Regions from separate parts of the Homo sapiens genome. Here region 2 is linked to region 1. Evidence: promoter capture Hi-C in human tissues and cell types (Jung and others, 2019). All regions are on one chromosome and are shown on one strand. Each heading gives the region's core, a stretch centred on a gene start or on the middle of the fragment in contact. The rest is flanking DNA. Distances are from core to core; before and after follow the strand shown. Region 1 holds the start of LHX3 (LIM homeobox 3). Region 2 overlaps CCDC187 (coiled-coil domain containing 187).

The links. Contacts are between HindIII fragments. The study calls those that stand out against the background at their distance.
Region 2: a contact is called between a fragment that was not itself captured here and the fragment with the promoter of LHX3 in region 1, in 2 of the 25 tissues and cell types used here (IMR-90 fibroblasts and lymphoblastoid cells).

Annotation. Positions count from the first base shown.
Region 1 is chr9:136,201,011-136,207,390 of GRCh38, forward strand. It overlaps LHX3 (LIM homeobox 3), which reads right to left and starts at 4,118. Exons shown (of 6, transcript NM_178138.6): 1 at 3,924-4,118. The coding sequence starts at 4,002. It overlaps QSOX2 (quiescin sulfhydryl oxidase 2), which reads right to left. Exons shown (of 12, transcript NM_181701.4): 12 at 5,323-6,380. The HindIII fragment of the contact is 12,211 bases long and covers 1-6,149 here.
Region 2 is chr9:136,266,222-136,272,601 of GRCh38, forward strand. It overlaps CCDC187 (coiled-coil domain containing 187), which reads right to left. Exons shown (of 26, transcript NM_001378188.1): 15 at 1,828-1,904; 16 at 1,163-1,290. Among named protein-coding and RNA genes, the nearest start is that of QSOX2, 24 kb to the left of the region's middle. RefSeq lists silencers at 1,016-1,175, 1,240-1,615 and an enhancer at 1,416-1,485. The HindIII fragment of the contact is 6,359 bases long and covers 1-5,625 here.

The DNA.
Region 1 (6,380 bases), core at 2,868-5,367:
AGCCCAGGCCATTTCACGAGGCTGAATACTCAATTACAAAATGTTGCCAGTGCCAAGAAGGGTGCATGTGGAGCTCAAATGAAAACCCCACCCCAGGGGGATCTGCTCTCTGAAGCCCGGCAGGAAACATAGGGAAACGGGTCTTCACCATCACCTGGAGCTGGGGCACCCCATCGGGTCTCCTTCATGTTAAGCGTCATGGCCACTCTTTCTAGGGACTCCTCGCAAATGTGGCTGCCCTGCCTGGTGGCCCTGTCTGCAGGCCTCCGGGGTAAATATCAATGCCTTCCCCATCATTGGGCAGCCGCAAAATTACTTATGAGTGGACTGGACAAGCCGATCCACTGCCTTTGTGTCAGGCGTGGGTGCCCCCAACACCGTCAGAGTTACTCAAACGTCTGGCTTCCCGCTGCTTCTGCCCCCCACACCCCACTTCGGTACTGCAGGCCCCCTGGAGGAACCACACTGGGGAGGTCCAAGGGTGCCCTGTGGGAGCCTCGAGTCTGTGAGCGGGTTTTCCAGGTGTCAAGGGCTGAGGACTCCCTCTTCACTTAGAAAAAGTCTCTGGAAGAGAGGAGTGCCCGCTGAAGGGACCGGGATTTACTGACATATTGCACCCGCCTCCCTGGCTGTGGACCCCGCCGGCTCCAGCCCATCTCCCAGTGGGTGAGAGACACCAGGAAGGGGCTCCCTCGACCTCCGGCGGAAAAAACTGGGCTGCGCCTCCCCACGCAGTGGCGGGAAACCGGCGATGAATGCGCCCCGCATCCGGCAAAACCGCAGCTCCGGGTGCGGAGCGTCGAGGACCCGCTGCGCGCCCGGGGTCCCCATCGTGGGCAGCGATCGCAGGCGAGGACCCGGCTCGGAGCGGGGCGGCCCGACAGGCCGACACAGCGCGGATTCAGCACCGCGGACCGGACAGCGCCTCGGCCGCAGCTCGCCGCCGGCGCCCGCGTCGGGCAAAAGCCGCCCCAGCCCACCCCGCGCCGCGCCCGCGACCCCAGCCTTACGCTGCATGGCGACTCCAGCCCTGGCGGGGGCTCCTGTGTCAGGGATGGCGGGGTCGGCGGAGCCTGGACGCCAGCCCGCCCGCTCCGGCCAGCTCTCCCGAGCGCGGGCGCGCAGTCCTCCTTCCTCCCTCCCTCTCTCCGCCCCCCAGCCCCCGCGGCCAACCCCTCCCAGGAACCGTCGAAAAATAAATAAATAAGTAGGGAACCGCGAGCCCCCACAGCCTGGATGTAACCCCCTTCCCGCCGGCCGGTCCCTCTCACTCCCCACTGGCTCCGGGGCCTCCTTCCCCATCCTGCGGCTCCAGCTGGCCCGGGAGTCGAGGAGAACTGCCCAGGTTCCCTAAGAACCAAAGTGCTGGGAGCTAGAGTGGTGCCACCAGGAAGCTGGGGGGCCTGGAGAAGAGAGGCTTTTTCCTACAGACGGGCCCTGAGCGGGGATAAACCGAGCGGGTGTCTGTGGGCGCAGACGCTGAAACCTGACTTCGGGGAGACCGACGGTCGGAGTTCAGCTCGACCTTGGCCCCTGCATCTGACTCTGTTCCGCTGGAACGTGGAAAGAGTCCGGCTGGGGCGGCCTTCTTGGGGACCCTCCTGTCCCGTGGTCACTGCCCCGCCACTGCTCCCTGCGCCTCCTCCAGCCCAGGGAGCTGGCTCCGGGCTGCAGAGGTCTCCTAAGCCCACCCTGGACCCCCGAGAGCTCCCTGGCCGGAGCAGCGCAGTGCCACAACCTCACTCACTCCCTGACAACCCAGGCCAGGGGCCCTGCAACAAATACAGGCTGAGGCGCCCAGGCGCGGACGTTCCGGGGTCCTCGCGCCCACTCCCGCCCAGATCCTCTAGCTCCTGCCAGCCTCCGCGGCCAGGCCCGGAAAGGCCTGAGGATCTCCTGGTCTCCCCGGTGCAGCCACTCGGCCCGGGCACCCACCTCGGCGCAGGTCCGCCCTCCGCGCCAGCAGTGCTAGCAGCAGGTCGCCTCCCGCCGACTCCCGGGCCGGGCCCAGCTCCCCGCGCGCCTCCATGGGTCCCGCCGCCCGGCGTCGCCACTCTCCAGTCCCGAACTTTCCCGGGCCCAGCGACGCCACCCCGCAATAGCCCCGAACCGGCGTCCAAGCGACTCCGGGTGCTGCTGGGCGCTGCGCCCGCGGGCCGCCCTGGGGCCCGGAGCCTCTGGCCGAGCGGAGGGCGGAGCGGCCGGGGGGCGGGGCCGCGGGGCGGGGCGGGGCCGGGGGTCGCGGAGACCAGCCCGGGCCACTGCGGACTCTGAGCGCCTTTGCGCCGGGACCTGCGGTGCCCAGAGGCCGCCCCGCGTGCCCGGCCCGAGGGCGGGCACCGGTAAGGGAGGGCCCAGGTCAGGGCTTCCCGCCAGCGTTCGTCCCGGCCCCGCAGCTTCCTGCGCCGGAGCGGCCCAGAGGCAGAGGCCTGAGCTGGAGCACACGCCAGGAGGGCTAAGGTTCCCGGGAGAGGGGTCGAGAAGGCAGCAGGGTCCTCCCGCCGCTGAGGTTTGGCCTCGGGAGCAGCAGATGGTCGGCGGGAGCTCAACCCGAAACGCAGAAGGGGTGAGTGTGGCGCCGAGGGCTGCGTACCGGAACCGCAAGGTGCCGGACCGATCCCAGATGCTAACAGGCTTCTGGGCTCCACCCCTGGAACTGCGGCCCCGGACGGCTCAGGGAGGAAGGGCAATCCTTGAGAGAGAACAGGCTCTGTGTCCTGGACACGCAGCCAAGACCTCGGGTCGTGAGGGGCCGAGCTGGGGAAGCCCCAGGGCACACCTTCCATTTCCAGCCCCCAGCACTCCGGCTCCATTGGAACACGGTCCCTTACCTGATATTTCAGCCTCTTGCCCCAGTCCACACAGGTGAGCTCTCCAGAACCCACCTGTCCTTGCAGGCAGAGGGACGCACCCACCCCTGCCCAGAGGGCCCTGGGCCAGCACCAGCCCTGGGCAGCCACCCGGGGAAGAACACAGCAGTGGGTGGCCCTCGGCAGCACAGGACTTGGCAAAGGCAGGGGTGCCCTGGCAGTGCGCAGAAACACACAGGAAGGGTTGGGGGACCAGGGGCTGATGCCATCCTGCAGGTCCCTCTCCCTGTGGGTCTCACAGCAATACTCTGTCCACTCTGCCTATGGCTTCTGGACTGTGAGCTTTAAGGGCCCAGGCCCAGAAGGATGGGCACAAGAAACCACAGTCCCTCCCTCCTAGCTCCCAGCAGGTCCGATGTGTCCGTTTTGAGCAGTGGCCCATGCAGCCAGCTTTCTGCCCCTTCACTTTGCACAGCACTTGTTACCCAAGAAGGGCCAGGGCAAGGACACGCGGGTGCAAAGCCGAGTGTGTGCGGGCTGTGCTGGGTGCAGGTGGCTGAGTGTCAGCTGCTGCCGAAGCGATCAGGGGTCGTGTGTGGCAGGACTGGGGAAGGGGCGGCGGCAGGTTAAGGAGGCGGCCCACCCTGCTGGCATCTGGCCAGCCCTCCAACAATGCCTCCATTATTTCCCAGCGTCCGTGGTGATGGAATGGCCCTTGGGGAGGGTGGTTCAGGCGGGAGACACAGGCTTGGGTCCCCTGCTGTGGGGTCCAGAGACCTGGGCCGGGCTGTGTGCAAGAGCTGACGGGCACTGGTCACCGGGGGAACCTAGCACCCCTTGGTCGGCCCCATCGCCCCCCAGCTGTGCCTGCGATGCCCCCTTTTTTTCTAGGGGCCTCCACTCCAACCGCTGTCCCGCACTCTTGCAGGCCAGCGTCAGGCCCTCCCCGCCACCCTGGGATCTGGAAACTCACTCTCTGCAGTTTCCATCTCTGTGTCCCGCCTGCAGAGCGGCGGGACTTTCTTTGCCTGGCCGCTGGCCCTGCACGCACCCCCTTCCTCGCGCCTCTGCCGCCCTTGCCGTTTCTGTCCTCAGTGTCCTGCTGGGGCTTACCCCGAGTCCCGCCCAAGGTGCAGACGGCGGCGGCCCCGGGCCTCGCTCGGTCGCGCTCGAGCCCCGTTTCCAGCAGCATCGCGGCCACCAGGCCGAGTGGCGCGAGACGCGCTCCTCCTAGGTCAGCGTCCCCTGGAGGGTTCGGGGCTCCCAAGTCCCGCCGCGTCGTGCGGGGCAGGGAGCCCGGGAGCCACTGGGCCTGGCGCTGTCCGCGGTGCTGAAGGAGGCGCCCGCTGCCCGCCCCGCCCGCGCGCCCGCCCACCTCCCGGGGCCCCTCTCGTCGCCCCGGTCCCCACCCCCGCCTCTGCCCCGTGTCGGGCGCGCCTCCCTCCCTGGCTGGGTTGGGCCGCACTCAAGGCAGCCCCCGCCCTCACCCCTCTGAGACCCAGGGTGGCCGTGCCCGCTCCTCCCTAAGCTCCAGGCCCTGCTGAGGCGCTGGGATTCGCCGAGTTTCGCAGCAAGCGGGTCGTCCAGCCGCAGGGCAGGAGGACACTGACCCTACCCTTCTGGCGTGCAGCCTCTGGAAGGCAGTGCCCAGGCCGTGCCCCGGGGCAGCCCCATGCGTGATCAACTCCAGCCCAGGGCTCACTGGGGCACTCTCCTGCAGGTGTTTTGCTGGTCAGGGAACTTTCCACTCTTAACCTCCTTGAACTCAACCCCCAACTTCTGGGAGGAGCTCAGCCCGCACCCCTCCGGGCTGCCAGGAGGAGAGGCACCTGCAGTCCCCTGTAACAAAAGCACTGCTGAGGACTCAAGACCTTGGGCATAGGCAGGGCCTGAAGGAATCGCCCAGTACACACCCAGGCTGGTGTCTGCTCGGTGCCTGACGAGTGACTGAGTTACTGCCAGCCTCTGCACAGCCTGGCCAGGGAGGTGCCAACCGGCTTCCTCCACAGCCACAGGCAAGACTGTTGACCACTGCCCTGCCCCCACTGGCACAGCAAAAGTAGGGGAGGGGCAGAAGACAACACGGGGTCAAGGGCACCCCACAGAACACCACAAACAGCCTTAGCAGGACACTCACACCCAGGAAGCAGAGGGATGGCCACTCAAGCAAGCTGGGGGTCCTCTGAGGTGCCCTCAGGCTGGGCTGCCGCGCGTGCTCTTTGAAGTGTGTAGCTGACATGCATCTCAGCTGCCCTTTAACCTGTGTAAAATCAAGGGTCTTGTCCTGTGAGTCTCGTCCAGATCAGCTCCAGGGAGATGATCTATCACTGCTTTCCATCTTCTACTTTCCATCCGACCCTTGGGCTGTGTCCCAAAAGCCAATGATTCGATAGGAGAAACTCTAGGATTTCAGATGTCCAGTACGTGAACAAAAGAGGGGTCCATTCTGCACCCACCGCCTCTACCACAACTCCCACTGGTAGAGCTGGTTCACATTTCAAAAGAATCACCATTTTTTCAAATGTCAGATTTCTTTATTAAAATGTGCACATTATAGTTTACTTAAATACAAAATGTTCACTTTCCTTGCAGGTAAGAAATTTCACTGACATTTCCATGTCAATTAGCTTCTTTTTAATAAAAATCCTTCCACTGAAAATAAATAAGCATTTAAATTACTGAACTATTATATTCATTAGTCTCAATACCTCTTAAAATACTTAAAACTTTAGAAAATAGACTCTAAACATTGCCTAAAGGTGGCATCCAGCTCTGAGCAGGCCACACAAGGTGTGTCTGAGTATGGCCATATGACTCCTGGGGCCACCTCCACGACGGCCCAGCCCCACCGACGCTCTGCTGAAAATCCTGCCCCTCAGCAGGACGCAAGCTTGTTCCCCAAATAGTGGTGACCTCAAACTGCAATATGATGAAACCTGCAGCCAACACTGCCCTCCACAAGGGTTTCTGGAAAGGCTGAAGCTGGAGACGGTAAACCACAACACCGTCCCAGGTCACTCCAGGTCACCCCAGCTAAAGACATTCAACACCAGCCAAAAGGCTAAAGTTTAGTTTGAAGGGTTCAAAGGCAAATACACTGAAACCCACGTGTAAACCTGCCTGGTTTTCAAACTGGAAGAGAAACACTTTGGTGTCTTCAATAACCCAGGCCTGCACTGGATGAAGCAATGAAGGCAAGGTCACGGCTGCTAAAGCACAGAGGGGTTAAAAAGTGTGAAACCAGAAGCAACTCTCGAGTGAGACACGAAGCAGCAGGCTGACGCACCAGACACCGCTCCCACCAGACACCTCTCCCGCCAGCTGCAGGGCCCTGGGCAGCGTTCTCAGCCCAGCCATTCTGTGACAGTTGTTGAAAGAATCAGCTGTTGCCTTTTTTTCTCAAGCGACAACAATCACATCAATATTACATGGTCTTATGAATACATCCATGTCATCAACTTGTTAGTAAACACATGATTATACAACATAAAGTAGGCAAAGCGGAAAAAATATCTACAACCGTCAAAGTCTCTCTCTCTCTCATACACACACACACACACACACACACAC
Region 2 (6,380 bases), core at 1,196-3,695, 64 kb after region 1:
TGGCCCAACCCGGGCTGTCACTCTTCCACCCCTCACAGCCACTTTTGGACTTTTGGGTCTAAAGAGACAAAGGCTAGCCGAGAGCCGCCCCTGCCACCCTGAAGGCCCAGCCCAGGCCAGTGGGTCCTCTGGGGAGGGAGGTGGGGGTCACCCACATCCACCCCCCACCCATCATGGAATAAACACCCTCAGTCTGGCCCGCTCAGACACCGGGTGAGGATGTTAACTGGAATCACCTTTCTGGAGACCAATGTGGCAGTATCAAGCGGCTTCCAGATGCATTCTCACTGACCCGGTCATTCCATTTCTAAGGTTTTACCTTAAGGAAATGATCTCTCTATCTTCATTAATAATGGCAAAACGTTGGAGACAACCTAGAGGCCCGGAGATCCGGGACAAGCGAAGGGAGTTACAGCCCTGTCTCTACGCCGGTGCGCCCTGTGTGTTATAGCGGTTATGTAGCTACACAGAAAGGTTTTCCTGACATATAAATTGAAAACGCAAGTTACAAAACAGCACGTACTGCCCATTTGCAAGTTGAAATAGCCATGTGTGTTTCTCCCCAAAACAGAGTATCCGCACTGGGCGTGGTGGCTCTCGCCTGTAATCCCAGCACTTTGAGAGGCCGTGGCTGGCGGATCAACTGAGGTAGGGAGTTCGAGACCAGCCTGACCAACATGGAGAAACCCCATCTCTACTAAAAATACAAAATTAGCTGGGCGTGGTGGCGCACACCTGTAGTCCCAGCTACTCGGGAGACTGAGGCAGGAGAATCCCTTGAACCTGGGAGGCGGAGGTTGCAGTGAGCCTAGATCGCGCCACGCGCCTCTACACTCCAGCCTGAGCAACAAGAGCGAAACTCTGTCTCAAAACAAAACAAAACAAAACAAAAAAACAAAGTATGCACAAAGATGATCTCAGAGGTCACCTTTGGAACGATGGGGGTATTTTTTTATTTGTGTATTGAGTACTTTACTGCCTTATGTAAGTTTCAGCAAACACCTATTACTGTTTGGACCAGTACCTCTTGTTTCTCAAAACGCTGTCGGGGCCACGGGCGGGACCCGGACGGGGCAGGGAGGGGGCGGGGCTACAGCAGGGCGGGGCTACAGCAGGGCGGGGCTACGGCGGGGCGGGGCCGGCGCCAGGCGCATGCGCTCACCCTCGTCGATGCTCCAGCCAGGCCAGCTCCGCGAGCGTTTTCTCCTGGAGCGCCATCTCTCGCAGGCGCAGCAGCGCGGCCTGGTGCTGTGCTCGCAGCTCCTCCTCCCGCAGGCTCCGCTCCAGCATCTGCAGCTTGAAGCGGCCCAAGGCCCCTAAAGCTCTGGGTTCGGTGCTTCCGGGCCTCGCGGGGCTCCAGTAGGGTGGGCCGCGTCACCGCCTAGCTTCTAGACCGCTCCCAGCACAGGCCACCGCCTCCGAGAAGCCCTCTCGGACTGCCCGCCCCTCCCATCCCCCTATGCCGCCCTCGCTTCCCCGACTGTGAGCTGGCGGGGCAGGCAGGATCTTTAGCATCTCGGCCTCACCACCAGCCCTGATCCAGGAAGCCCAGGCCACCTGCCCTAAAATATACAACCTGGGCGGGGGCTAACCCTGCCCAAAGCACCATGTTGAAATGCCTGCCCCCCTCTGTCACCCAGGGCGGGAGGAACGGGCTTGGGTAGCTGTCAGCTGGAAGAGCGGGTGACGCGATCGCCGGAAGAACCTCCCAACCCAGGACCTGCCTTGGCCCTTCTTAGTGGAAGGACAGTTGGGTCCGGGGCCCACTACCAGGGCCGTGCTGGGTCCTGAAATTGTGCCTCTCCCCCAGGGGACCTCTCCACGTACCTGGTGGGTGGGGTTGTCCGGAGGGAAGAACTTGGCCAGGGGAAGCTGGGAGAGGGCTCCGTCAGGGCCCTCCACCTCTGAGGAAGGAAGCGCCATGGTTGGGTCATGTAGGGGGTCTGAGTGCCCCGTGTCAGGGGCCATTTCTACCGGAGGGCCTCATAAAAGTAGGAGGTCTAGGGCAGTTTAGTGTCCCCATCCCATCCCGGACACACAGGGCTTCACGCAGAATCCACAAGACCACGCGGGAAGGGACAGGCAGTCTCTTGATGTGAAGTTGTGGTTTGTGACCCTACTGATCATGGGAAAGACCAGACCAAAAGTAGAGGAAGCTCAGGGAGACAGCCCAGCTGCTCTGCGTCTACAGGCTTCTAAAGGAGGGGAGAGTGAGGCCCAGAGAGGGAGAAGGGCTGTCGGGGTCTAGCACCAAGGAGCTGGCAGGTGACAGCAGATCCCAGATCCCCAGCTGAAGTAGCTGACCTGCTGCCGACCTCTGCTGGCCATGCTTCTGTTCTGAGTGATGGAAAAAGGAGCCTGTACTTCAAGCGATCCTTAAGGACGTTCCCTCCCACCAAAGACAGAGCAAAAGGGACTGGATTTTGGCTTTGCCATCCCATCTGCAACAACTGAAAAAATCACGTAAATACACACACACATGTGTGTTTATATAGAGATATGTGTGTGTATACATATATATATATTTTTTCACACACACATATGAAATAACAGTTTTCCAGGCACTGGACTTGAGGCAACATAGCACAGTGATCCCTGAGAGACAGAAAACAAAGGAGGGGAGGAGACTTGCGATGCTCACGGCTTACTGCCTCAGAGAGTTGCCAGGCTATGGTGAGGGAGGGGAAGCTGGCTGAGCTGGAGGACTCCCTGGGTAGAGGAGACAGCAGAGAGTCTGGGAGGACCAAGGCAGCTGGAGTTTGTGGGGGCAGAGTGTCAGAGAGGAGAGAGTCGCACAGAGAGAGGACCTCTGAGATGTATCAAGTGTCCCTCTGGAGTATTCAGTAGAGAACTGATGGATGAATGCGTGTCAAGAAGCTACCAGATGCTGGGACAGAAGCGTTCCGGGGGACTGGAAGCCTGGTAATGACGCCTGTTTCCAGTAGTCAGGCTGGAGGACCTTAGGACTCCCAGGTCACTGGGCAGGCAGTGTACACAGAACGTTCTTGCCTTGACTGTCGGAAATGATTAGCCCCAGGCTGAGCACTGATCCAGATCGACCTAACACACTATTAATGAAAAGTCTGAAAGGACCAAATTACTTCTAAATAACTGCAGTCCCGAAGAAAGCTTAAGAATGTTTATAGGGGCCAGTGCGGTGGCTCACGCCTGTAATCCCAGCACTTTGGGAGGCCAAGGTGGGTGGATCACGAGGTCAGGAGATGGAGACCATCCTGGCTAACATGGTGAAACCCCGTCTCTACTAAAATACAAAAAATTAGCTGGGCGTGGTGGTGGGCGCCTGTAGTCCCAGGTACTCGGGAGGCTGAGGCAGGGGAATTGCTTGAACCTGGGTGGTAGAGGTTGCAGTGAGCTGAGATTGCGCCACTGCACTCCAGCCTGGCAACAGAGTGAGACTGTCTCAAAAGGAAAAATTAAAAAAAAGGAATGTTTACAAGAATACAAAAATATCTAGCACTCAGCAAGGTAAAATTCACAGGGCCCAGAAGATATGCAAAGAAACCAGAAAAACACAACCAGTAATGAGCAGGATAATTTATTAACAGTATCCCAGGCTTGACGTGGGTGTGAGAATTGGCAGAGAAGGACATTAGAAGTTTCGTAACTCTATCGCATATGTTAAGATGTTAAGTAGAGCCACAGAGGATATAAAACGAAAAGATCCAAATGGAATGTGTAAACTGATGAAAATTAAATCACTTGAGATGAAAAACACACTGGATGGGATGAAGGGCAGACTAGACACTGCAGAAGGAGAGATGAACGAACTGGAAGATATAGCAATAGAAACTATCCAAAAGGAAACAGAGAAGAAAAAAGAATAAAAGAATACAAAGAGCTTCAGTAAGCTCACAACTTCAAGTGGCCTAATGTATGCGTAATTGTGTAAGCTCCAGCCCTACGGGGCTTAGCAGGTGTTCTCCCCATGTGCGGAGATGAGAGATCGTAAGAAATAAAGACACAAGGCAAAGAGAGAAAGAGAAAACAGCTGGGCCCGGGGGACCACTACCATCAAGAAGCGGAGACAGGTAGTGGCCCCCAATGGCTGGGCACGCTCATATTTATTGTATACAAGACAACGGGGCAGGGTAAGGAGTCTTAATCACTGAGTCGTCCAAGTGATTAAAAAGGTCAAGCAAGTCACGTGATCATAGGACAGGGGGCCCTTCCCTTTTAGGTAGCCGAAGCAGAGAGGGAAGGCAGCATACATCAGCGTTTTCTTCTGTGTACTATAAGAAAGATCAGAGACTTTAAGACTTCCACTATTTCTTCTTCTGCTATCTACTACGAACTTTAAAGAGGAACCAGGAGTATGGGAGGAACATGAAAGTAGACAAGGAGGGTGACCACTGAAGCACCACAGGGAGGGGTTTAGGCCTCCGGATGACTGGGGGCAAGCCTGGATAATATCTAACCTCCCACAAGAAGCTGGTGGAGCAGAGCGTTCCCTGACTCCTCCAAGGAAAGGAGACTCCCTTTCATGGTCAGCTAAGTAACGGGTGCCTTCCCAGACACTGGCATTACCGCTTGACCAAGGAGCCCTCAAGCGGCCCTTATGCGGGTGTGACAGAGGCCTCACCTCTTACCTTCCAGGTCACTTCTCACAATGTCCCTTCAGACCTGATGCTATACCCACCGGTTATCCCTAGGTTATATTTGTAATGCAACAAAGAGTAATATTAAAAGCTAAATGATTAATAATGTTTATCCTAATGATTGATAATTGTCCATGATCATCTCTATATCTAATTTGTAATATAACTATTCTTGTTCTAACTATTTTCTTTATTATACTGAAACAGTTTGTGCCTTCAGTCTCTTGCCTCGGCACCTGGGTAATCTTCTGCCCACATAATTGGAGTCCCTGAAGGAGAGGTGAGAGAAAGAGGAGCAAAAAGATATTTGAACAAATAGTGGCTGAACTATTTCCAAATTTGAAGAAAATGAAAAATCCACAGGTCGAAGAATCTCAACAAACCCAGAGGACAAGAAATATGGTCTGGGCGTGGTGGCTCCTGCCTATAATCCCAGCACTTTGGGAGGCTGAAGTGGGCAAATCACCTCAGGTCAGGAGTTCAAGACCAGCCTGGCCAACATGGTGAAATCCTGTCTCTACAAAAATACAAAAATTAGCCGGGTGTGGTGGTGGGTGCCTGTAATCCCAGCTACTTGGGAGGCTGAGGCAGGAGAATCGCTTGAACCTGAGACGCAGAGGTTGCAGTGAGCCGAGATTGTGCCATTGCACTCCAGCTTGGGCAACAGAGCGAGACTCTGTCTCAAAAAATAAAAATTAAAAAATGAAGAATAACAATAACAAAGGACATCATAATAAAATTGCTCAAAACCAGTAACAAAGAGAAAGTCTTTTTTTTTTTTTTTTTTTGAGACGGAGTCTCACTCTGTCAGCCAGGCTGGAGTGCGGTGGCGCGATCTCGGCTCACTGCAAGCTCCGCCTCCTGGGTTCACGCCATTCTCCTGCCTCAGCCTCCCGAGTAGCTGGGACTACAGGCACCCGCCACCGCATCTGGCTAATTTTTTGTATTTTTAGTAGAGATGGGGTTTCACCATGTTAGCCAGGATGGTCTTGATCTCCTGACCTCGTGATCCACCTGCCTGGGCCTCCCACAGTGCTGGGATTCCAGGTGTGAGCCACCACGCCTGGCTGAGAAAGTCAAAAGCAGCCAGAGAAACAAAGACACGGTGATGTACTGACGAACCAAGAAGAATGGCAATCAATTTCTTGTCACAAATAATGCAAGCAAGAAGACAATGGAGCAATGTCTTCAAAGTACTGAAAGGGAAAAACTGCACCTAGAATTCTATGTCCAGGAAAGAGTACGTCAAAAACAGAGATGAGATGAAGGTGTCCTTAGACATCCAAAAGCTAAAGACACCAGCAGACACGCACCACCAGAAATGCTAAGGGAAATCCTTCCAGCAGAAGGAAAAGGATGCGGGTTAGAAATCTACATCTACCGGAAGCAATGGAGAGCACCAGAAATGGTAAAATGACGACTATGTGCAGATGTAAATATAAACACATATATTATTTAAAACTTTTAACAAGATAATTGGCTGTTTAAACAAAATGATAACAATGTATCGCAGAGTTTATAAAACATTTAAAATAAGCCTGGGCAACATGGCAAAACCCCATCTCTACAAAAAATACAAAAATGGCCGGGCGTGGTGGCTCACGCCTGTAATCCCAGCACTTTGGGAGATCGAGGCAGGTGGATCACCTGAGGTCAGGACTTCGAGACCAGCCTGGCCAACATGGTGAAACCCCGTCTCTACTAAAAATACAAAAATTAGCTGGGCGTGGTGGTGCACACTTGTAATCCCAGCTACTCAGGAGG